Regions from separate parts of the Homo sapiens genome. Here region 2 is linked to region 1. The links are contacts of gene promoters, found by promoter capture Hi-C in human tissues and cell types (Jung and others, 2019). All regions are on one chromosome and are shown on one strand. The core of a region is centred on a gene start or on the middle of the fragment in contact, and the rest is flanking DNA. Distances in the headings are between cores, read along the strand shown.

Region 1 (4,551 bases), core at 108-2,607:
GATTTGGCCAGGCGCAGTGGCTCACGCCTGTAATCCCAGAACTTTGGGAGGCCGAGGCGGAGGATCACGAGGTCAAGAGATCGAGACCATCCTGGCCAACAAGGTGAAACTCCGTCTCTACTAAAAATACAAAAAATTAGCCGGGCATGGTGGTGGGTGCCTGTAGTCCCAGCTACTCAGAAGGCTGAGGCAGGAGAATCACTTGAACCCAGGAGGCGGAGGTTGCAGTGAGCCGAGATTGCGCCACTGAACTCTAGCCTGGTGACAGAGAGAGACTCCGTTTAAAAAAAAAAAAAAAAAGGACAATTTATTGGTGTCTGCCCTATTTTCACAAGACGTGGCTGAGATTATTGACTTAATTCACCCAGAGTTCTTTTTCTTCCCTTCTCAGCTGTTGGTCTCAGCGTCAGTTGCCCTCCGCACACCAGACCAACCAGGGCAGGGGAGTGAGGCAGTTTCTATAGCAACAGAACCACAGCTGCACCCCACTGTCCCCACACCTCTGCACCATTTCCCTCTGCCTACCCGCTTGCTTCTCCCAGGACACAAAACAGCCAGGCAATTCCCAGGCCAGGATATAATAATTCCTGCCAAGAGTGCTGCGACTCTGACCACCTGTGTTGGTTTCTTGCTTTGTGTCTGCCTCTGCCCCTTTTAGGTGGATTCCCTGACTCCCTCCTCTCCTTCTCTCCCATTTGGTGTAGAAGCTGTGACACCTTCATGCTACCCAGGGTGTCTCTCATTTGTATCAGTAAGCTGTGAACACTTATGCTATGATGACCTTGGGATAAGAATATAAATCCATGTTAACCACCATCACCATCTCACCATCATACAACTATCATGACCAGTTTACCCCAACATGCTACCCCATAACCACCCCACAGCAACATCACCATCACCTCCGCCTCCGCCTCCACCAGCACCCATCATCACACCACGCTCCACAGCCAGCTCACTATCACCTCTACCAGCACCCACCTACCACACCCCCCCCCCACAGCCACCTCATTATCACCAGTACCCCCTCCCCCACCATAGTTATACCACCATCTCCCCGCCTACCATCCATCCCACTTCCTTTAATGAAAACAGGTGATGCTGCGGGGGCTGCATACAGTCCAGCAAGCCCTGTCGAGCGCTGGCTTGGCTCACCCTGTCCCATGGTTGCAGGCCGCTCCTCTTATCCACTTGGCCGCAGAAAGCGCCTCTCTCAAACTGTTGCTTCTGGGCTCCTTCTGGGCTTTCTGTCTTCCAGACAGAAAATATGAAGGCACTTTTGTTGGCTTAAGAATCTGGAAATAGCAAAACCTCCCCCCACTACTCCTGTGAGCACCCTGACATGTTTCTTCTCTCCTACTCCCTCTCTGCTGGTATCTCCTGGACCAGTTACTGGGAGTAACCCTGTTCATTTTATCTCTTGTGCCAGGAGGCCCAGGCAGGAATACGCCTGGCAGCCCTGGGGGAGGGGGTGGGATGGGGAAGACCTGCCAACTAGAGAAGCCTAGAACAAACCTTGAAGCCTCTTGCTTCAGTGGTCTCAAGAGACTCTCAGAGATGTTATCTGGACTGCACTGGAAGACTCTGGAAGAGAGGAGGCCACAAACAGGAGTCCCATATCCAACTCCAAATCTCAGGCCCTAAACGTGACAGGGGCTGCAAGTTGCAAGATGTTCATGGGCTGTTTTGATAATAGAGAGAACACGTGCATCTGCAATTTATCTGTGTGAAAAAGATAAGGAAGTAGAATTTGTTGGTGAAAAATAAATGTATTAAAAGTAGAAGCTGGGGCCCCAACTCTTCCAAGCCTACCTGGTCTGGGACCCTCTACCAGAGAAGGTTGGGAACTATCTTGGGACTCAGGCCCTATGTCTTTTCAATTTTTCTTTCTTTAGTTCCTGAAGAGACAAGAGAAGGATCTCATATTTGGCCCTACCTGGGCTTGTGAAACTGTGTTACCAGAAGCACTTTCAGGGCAGCTGTACTTGCTGCATATACATGAGACGTCTATAGAATGATATAAAACACACTGCCAAAAATATTGGTTGCCTGTGGGGAGGGGATCTGGGCAGTGGGGTAGAAAGGTTATCTTTCTGCTGTTTACTCTTTTATACTTTTAAAACTTTGAACTTTTGAACTCATTTGAAGGATCTTATTATGTAAAAAAAAAAAAAAAAAAAAAAAATGAAACTTCTGCCTTTCACTAGCGCAGTGGCTCATGCCTGTAATCCCAGCACTTTGGGAAGCCAAGTCAGGCGGATCACCTGAGGTCAGGAGTTCGAGACCAGCCTGGCCAATATGGTGAAACCCTCTCTCTACTAAAAATACAAAAATTAGCTGGGCGTGGTGGCAGGCGCCTGTACTCCCAGCTACTCAGGAGGCTAAGGCAGAAGAATTGCTTGAACCTGGGAGGCTGAGGTTGCAGTGAGCCAAGATCGTGCCACTGCACAGCCAGCATGGAGCAAGACTCCATCTCAGAAAAAAAAAAAAAAATCCTTCATAAGAAATGAAGAAGTTAATTTTTCATTATTTGAAGATGTCATTTTTTACCTGGAAAACTTGAATCTACTAACAATGATTATAAAAGGTAATTTAGTGAGCTGGCTAATACCAAAAGTATAGAAGCCAATAGTTTTCATACCTGCAATCAATAACAAGTCAGAAACTGTAATTAAAGACCCAACCTATAATAGCAACAACAACAAAAGGTGAAATTTCTAGAAATAAACTTAAGAAATGTGAAGTGCTGTCAGTAAAACACTTGGAAACGGTATGGAGGGACACCAAATAAGACTTGAGCAGATAAAAAGGAAGATCACCATCCTGTGTAGGACAACTCAACTTTATAAAGCGGTCATTTCTTCCCAAGTTGATCTTAAGTTTAATTCATTCCCAATAAAAACACCAAGATTGTTTTTTGAAACTAGGTAAACTGATTCTAAGGTTCAAAAGGAAATTTCTAAGATAATAATAAAGTGTGACCAGCCTTCCTAGATATGAACACATAATATGATATTACTGTAATTGAAAAGTCCATAGATCAAAATACATGTATTAAATGTATGCTAAATGTGGCACTTCAAATCCATGGGGAAATGAAGGATTTATCAGTAAATGATTTTGGGACAACTAGCTTGTCAAAATACAGTTGGCTTCCTATCTTATGCCACACATCAAAATAAATTTCAGATGGATCAAAACTCTTATTAAATTCTTAAAGTAATAGAAGAAAAAATGAGACACTTCTTCTTAAGTTAACTTGGGAAAACCTTTAAAAATATTATGCAAAACTCAGAAGACAAAAAGAAAATACTGAGAAATTTGATTCCTTAAAAATTTTTAAATGGAAATATTCACAATGTTAAAAGATATGCAGATGGGGCACGGTGGCTCACACCTGTAATCCCAGAACTTTGGGAGGCCGAGGCGGGTGGATCACGAGGTCAGGAGTTTGAGACCAGCCTGGCCAACTTGGTGAAACCCCATGTCTACTAAAAATACAAAAAATTAGCTGAGCGTGGTGGCATGTGCCTGTAATCCCAGCTACTTGGGAGGCTGAGGCAGGAGAATAGCTTGAACCCGGGAGGTTGGAGGTTGCGGTGAGCTGAAACTGGGCCACTGTGCTCCAGCCTGGGCCACAGAGTGAGAATCCGTCTCAAAAACAAAACAAAACAAGATATGCAACAAGTTGGGTAAAATATTTGAAACTCATATCACGAAGGATTAATCTCCTTAATATAAAAGATGCCTATAAATCAATAAGAAAAGAATAACAAACTATTAGAAAAATGAGTAAAGGATATGATAGACAATTCACAGAAAAGGAAATAAAAATGTCTATCAATTCCATGGAAAGATGTTCAGCCTCATTTAATAAAAATGCAAAATAAAAACACCCTGAGATATCATTCTTTCTTCACCTATTAGATTGGCAAAGATAAAAGAGTTTGACAACATTTTGAGTTGGTGATGTTTTAGGAAAATAGTTGCTCTCTTATAATACTAGTGGGAGTGCAAATTTAAATTGGTGCAGCCTCGGCTGGGCGCGGTGGCTCATGCCTGTAATCCCAGCACTTTGGGAGGCAGGTGAATCACTTGAGGTCAGGAGTTCGAAACCAGCCAGGCCAAGATGGTGAAAACCAATCTCTACTAAAAATACAATAATTAGCCAGACATGGTGGTGGGTGCCTGTAATCTCAGCTACTCAGGAGACTGAGACATGAAAATCGCTTGACCTGGTGGGTGGAGGTTGCAGTTAGCCAAGATCATGCCACTGTATTCCAGCCTTGACAACAGAGCAAGACATTGTCTCAAAAAAATAGAAATAAATAAATTAATTAATAAATAATTGGTGCAGCCTCTCCAAATTTGTGCAGCCTCTACGGAGAGTGTTAGTCAGACTGGGTGGCTTAAACAACAGATATTTATGTTTTCACCCTTCTGTAGGATGGAAGTTCAAGATCAGGGCCTTTAGGCTTGGTGTCTGGTGAAGGCTCTCTTCCTCACATGCCCTCTTCCCTGTGTCCACGCGGAAAGAGAAAGATCTCTGGT
Region 2 (4,768 bases), core at 1,553-4,052, 140 kb after region 1:
ATTCCCTAGACTAAATCTAGGAGTAAAAGCATGTTGAGTATCAGCCCATGTTTGTACCTCCTGAGACAGTATTTCTACCCAGAAGCCTAGTCTTATGAGATATTTCATGAAATATTCACTAGATTAAATAAATCTTAGAACCTTAAATATGTGAATATGTATTGTGAGCCTCCAACAGGGGTATTTACCATCTTCCCAAACCTATAAGTTATTTTTTAGTAGAATATATTAATACCCCATGGAATTGATATTCCAGGGAACAACATTAAAAAATGCTGATCTTAAAGACTTATGAAAATGAAAACTATTATTAAATGGCTACTATGTGCCAGGCACTGTGCACAGTACCTCATTTACATCAACCCTATGAGGTAGGTCTTAATATATAAGCAAACTTGGGGGTTAAGTAACTTTTTTTTTTTTTTCATTCGTTGCCCAGGCAGGAGTGCAATGGCACGATCTCAGCTCACTGCAACCTCTGCCTCCCAGGTTCAAGCGATTCTCCTGCCTCAGCCACCCAAGTAGCTGGGATTACAGGTGCGCGCTACCACCCCTGGCTAATTTTTTGTATTTTTAATAGAGATGGGGTTTCGCCGTGTTGGTCAGGCTGCTTTCCAACTCCCGACCTCAGGTGATCTGCCCGCCTCGGCCTCCCAAAATGCTGGGATTACAGGCATGTGCCACCATGCCCAGCCTTAAGTAACCTTCTCTAAGTCACTTAACTAATAAACAACAGAGCCCAGATTCACATACGTACACATATATGACTCTGAAATCAGAACTCTTCTCACAAGGATGGAAGCCCTTGTGAAGTATTTTTTTCTTATCTAGCAGCTAAGATTCAAAGGGTCAGTTCTCTCAGGAACCTCAGATTCATAAAAGTGAACAACAGTTATCAGATTTTCATAAATGTGAATAAAGCAGACATACAGCTGGTATATGAGCTGAAACTAGAAGAAGACATATAAAAGAGAATGAACTTTTAAAATCAACTTCATCCTACCGTGGGTACGTGACATGCTACTTGAGAAATGTGAGCTTTCAGATTCCCTGCTTAGTAAACTGGTTGGAAACCTAGTGGTTCATGAATAAATCACAGCAAATTTACAATGTGCAGCTATCTCAGATTGATGCTCTAGTGTGGGAAGTCAAGTCACATAAATAATTTATATCCCCTCAGTGAGCTGCTTTAATAGACAAGAAATATGGGTGGTCACAAGAAGAATCCATGAAAGCTGGGTGTAGAGGCCAGTTCTCAATCAGATGATATTTTTCCTAAGTCCCATTGTCTTCCCTTTGTTATTTATACCATAATAGTGAAATAATCTTACCACGGGGGCTTTGGAATAACACTGGAGCACGGGTTATGACAGCCCCTGGGGGTATCTCAGTATCCTCTTCATCATCATCAGAATCTTCCTCTGTGGCCTCGTCTGCTTCCTCAGCTTGCTTCTGAGCTTCAGCCTCACTGGTCCCCTGGACGGGGCAAGAAGCAGTCTCTTCCTGGCCATCATTGGGTGGGGCAGCAACCCGGACACTCACCAAAGCATCCATCTCTTCAAAGAAGGGACAGGTCTCTGGTGCCTGGCCATTCTTAACTTTCCGATAGCTGGTTTGCAGGCTTTTAAACTTGGTCCGACACTGTTCTGGGGTCCTAAGAAAGCCATATTCCCATAACCTCTCAGCCACTGCTCCATACAGCTGGCTGTTGCGGTGACAGTTCCGGAGGGCTTCATAAAACTGGGTCTCACTAAGAATTGCAAGGTAAGTCTTGGTCTCTTCATAGCCCCAGTGTACACCTGCCACCAGAAGAGAAATTTCAGCACCACTTAATCCAGAGCTTTAGAGCCTGAATTCCTCAGTCCTATCATCTGCATCATGAGAATTCACCTAAGCTCAGGCTCCTAGATGAAAAAGTAAAAATACTTCATGTTTCCAAAATCCACAAACTCAGTATAGAATGTTTTGCTTCTTTATATCCTTTAGCAATTTCACAGAGACCTTTATTTACAAATTCTGTTTAGCCATATAAAAAAGAAGCTGGCCAGGCACAGTGGCTTATGCCTGTAATCCCTGTGGATCGCTTGGGGCCAGGAGTTTGAGACCAGCCTGGACAACATGGTGAAAGCCTGTCTCTACTAAAAACACAGAAAAATTAGCCAGGCGTGGTGGTGTGCACCTATAGTCCCAGCTACTTGGGAGGCTGAGGCATGAGAATCGAGAATCGCTTGAACTGGGGAGGTGGAGGTTGCAGTGAGATGAGATCACACCACTGCACTCCAGCCTGGACAACAAAGCGACTCTGTCTCAAAAAAAAAAAAAAAAAAAAAAAGTGAAAGAACAATGATAATGAAAATAACATTGAGCACATGTGCCACATTTAATTAACCTACATATATTTGTGTCTGCAACAAAAAAGGAAAAAGAGAATGAAGAAAACAAGAAAAATAAAGAGAAACGAAAAAGCAGAAGACACAAAGACCAGAAAGCTAGAACAGAACTAAAATAAGATCATGCATGTCACAAAAAACAGAAGGAAAAGACCACTGCTCACAAAGGAACTGCAACTTTAGCGATGTAGTCCTCCTGCTTTGCCCCATTTTACACTTGAGGAAATGGAAGCTTAGAATGGTTAGATAACTGCTCAAGGTCGCCCAGTTTATTAGTGGTCATCAGGATTAGAATCTAAGCCTCCTGAGTCATACTTTGGTGCTCTTTCCATAACAGCATAGTTGTACCGATTACATTAATGGTAGTAAATGATACTTTAAAAAGGATTCCATAGGCAAGAATATTTAAATAGAGTGTTAAACAAGCTTTCTCACTGTAGGACTTCTCAATCCTGTTAAAATGCCAATGTATACTATGAATCTCAGAGGAAACTTAGATGTTTCCCAGCTCAGTGTGGTGGCTCACACCTGTAGTCCTAACTACTCAGAAGGCTGAGGTGGGAGGACTGCTTGAACCCAGTGAGACCAGCCTGGGCAACACAGCAAGACCCTGTCTCTGTTTAAATATATTTTAAAATTTTTAAAGAAAAAAATGTTTCCCCAACTTTGGACAATTCTTCACTGTACTATTCTAAGTAAAAACGAATATAATAAACTGACTTTGAGCTTTGGGGAAGTAAAAGATAAAATATGTAAAACATCAAGTTCATATGACATACTCAATAAACACTGGTTCTACTTAAAGATAATATTGTGCCACATTTTTCTCAGTGAGCCTGCTGCAATGATTTTAAAATCAGGGAAAAAAATAGTTTAGTAAAGAAATGGAAGGAATGATACTCCTTCTCAGGACTGTGAATTTTCTGAGTGTATTTCTTCTAAAAATCTAAATGTATTCCCAATTATCTCACTGATTTTCCCATAAAAGAGAATGAAATACACACAAAGAATGGAGAAGCACTTCTTTGTTCCCTAAGTGGCAAAGCTGGCATGTGACATTAAGCCTTCTGACTCCACATCCAGTCTCTTTGTTCCCCAAGTCTAATTCCAAAACTCCAAGAAGAAAAGCTTCTTACCACCTGGGCTTCTGAACACAACAGGTGCAGCTGAGTTGGGGTCCTGGGGGGTCGCCTCTAGATCCATGTCATCACTGTCAGACTCCTGAGCCACAGCCTCTTCTGCTCCCTCCTCATGCTGCCAGCCCCTCTGCCCTGGCTCTTCAGTCTCAGCATCGCTGCCTACCAGGCCAGAGTGAGAGGCTGCTGCTTCCAGGCCATTACTGGGCAGGGCAATGACCTGAGCACTCATCAGGGCTTCCATCTCTTCAAAGAAGGGGCAGGTCTCAGGTGGGTGGCCGCTCTTGACTTTCCGATAGCTCTTCTGGAGACCTTTGAACTTGGTCCGACACTGTTCCAGGGTCCGGAGGAAGCCATATTCCCTGAGCCGCTCAGCCACAGCCCCATACACTTGGCTGTTCCTATGGCAGTTTCTGAGAGCCTCATAAAACTCAGTCTGGCTGAGAATTGCGAGGAGCGTTCTGGTCTCTTCATAGCCCCAGTGCACACCTGCCACCTTCTCATCTTCAAAGCTCCAGTGATCCTGTTCCACCCAGCTTCTTCTATCTTTCTTGGATGGTAACAGATCAGCATGCACTCGTCTGTCTCCTATGTGGCTGCCACTTGGAAGTTCTTTCTCCTTAGAGCCCAGCAGATCTGGGATCCATGGCTCTCCTTGCTCCAACCTGGAGACCACACCGGATTTAGGAAATGGCAATCCTGCTTGCAGGGAAACAAACAAAAGTTGTCATAGTTTGGACTGATTATCACAAAAATCTTGAAATTCAGTCCTGCCTTTTTCATCCAAGAGGATTATAAACAAAGTGTCTAGGGAAATGTTTTCAGAAAGTTCAGTGGGCTGAAAAAGGTGGGGAAAATACAGGAAACCTCAAAAGATGAGAAATGTTTTATTTTCCAGAGCAGGGTGACAAGAGAGGAAAGGATTCTGTTGTGTGTTCAGAGCAGATAATTCTATTCCAAGCTCTCCTATTTGTAGGCAGGTCCTAGTACTGCTGGGAATAATTGTTCTTCACTTGGGGCTACAGAATTAAACTCGGCGTGATTTCAAGGGGGAAGCGAGAGAAGATTGTCTTTACCTTATCCGTTTCCTTCACAGTCAGTCACCAGGTTCTAAAGGTGTTCACCTTAGTAGTCCTTCCTCTCTATTCCTACTGCCACCATCCAAGTCCAGACTACTTATCCTCTCACACCCAGATAATTGCAGCAGTCACTGTTCTACCTAACCGCAGGCTCTTGCTTGCC

Evidence for each region. The method cuts DNA at HindIII sites, captures the fragments that hold promoters and counts their contacts. A contact is called where the count stands out against the background at its distance.
Region 2: a contact is called between a fragment that was not itself captured here and the fragment with the promoter of EPB42 in region 1, in 1 of the 25 tissues and cell types used here (pancreas).

The regions. Positions count from the first base shown.
Region 1 is chr15:43,219,661-43,224,211 of GRCh38, forward strand. It overlaps EPB42 (erythrocyte membrane protein band 4.2), which reads right to left and starts at 1,358. Exons shown (of 13, transcript NM_001114134.2): 1 at 1,156-1,358. The coding sequence starts at 1,165. The HindIII fragment of the contact is 9,374 bases long and covers 1-4,551 here.
Region 2 is chr15:43,362,584-43,367,351 of GRCh38, forward strand. ZSCAN29 (zinc finger and SCAN domain containing 29) reads right to left here. Exons shown (of 6, transcript NM_001372080.1): 4 at 3,527-4,225; 5 at 1,332-1,799. Among named protein-coding and RNA genes, the nearest start is that of ZSCAN29, 6.1 kb to the right of the region's middle. The HindIII fragment of the contact is 3,910 bases long and covers 848-4,757 here.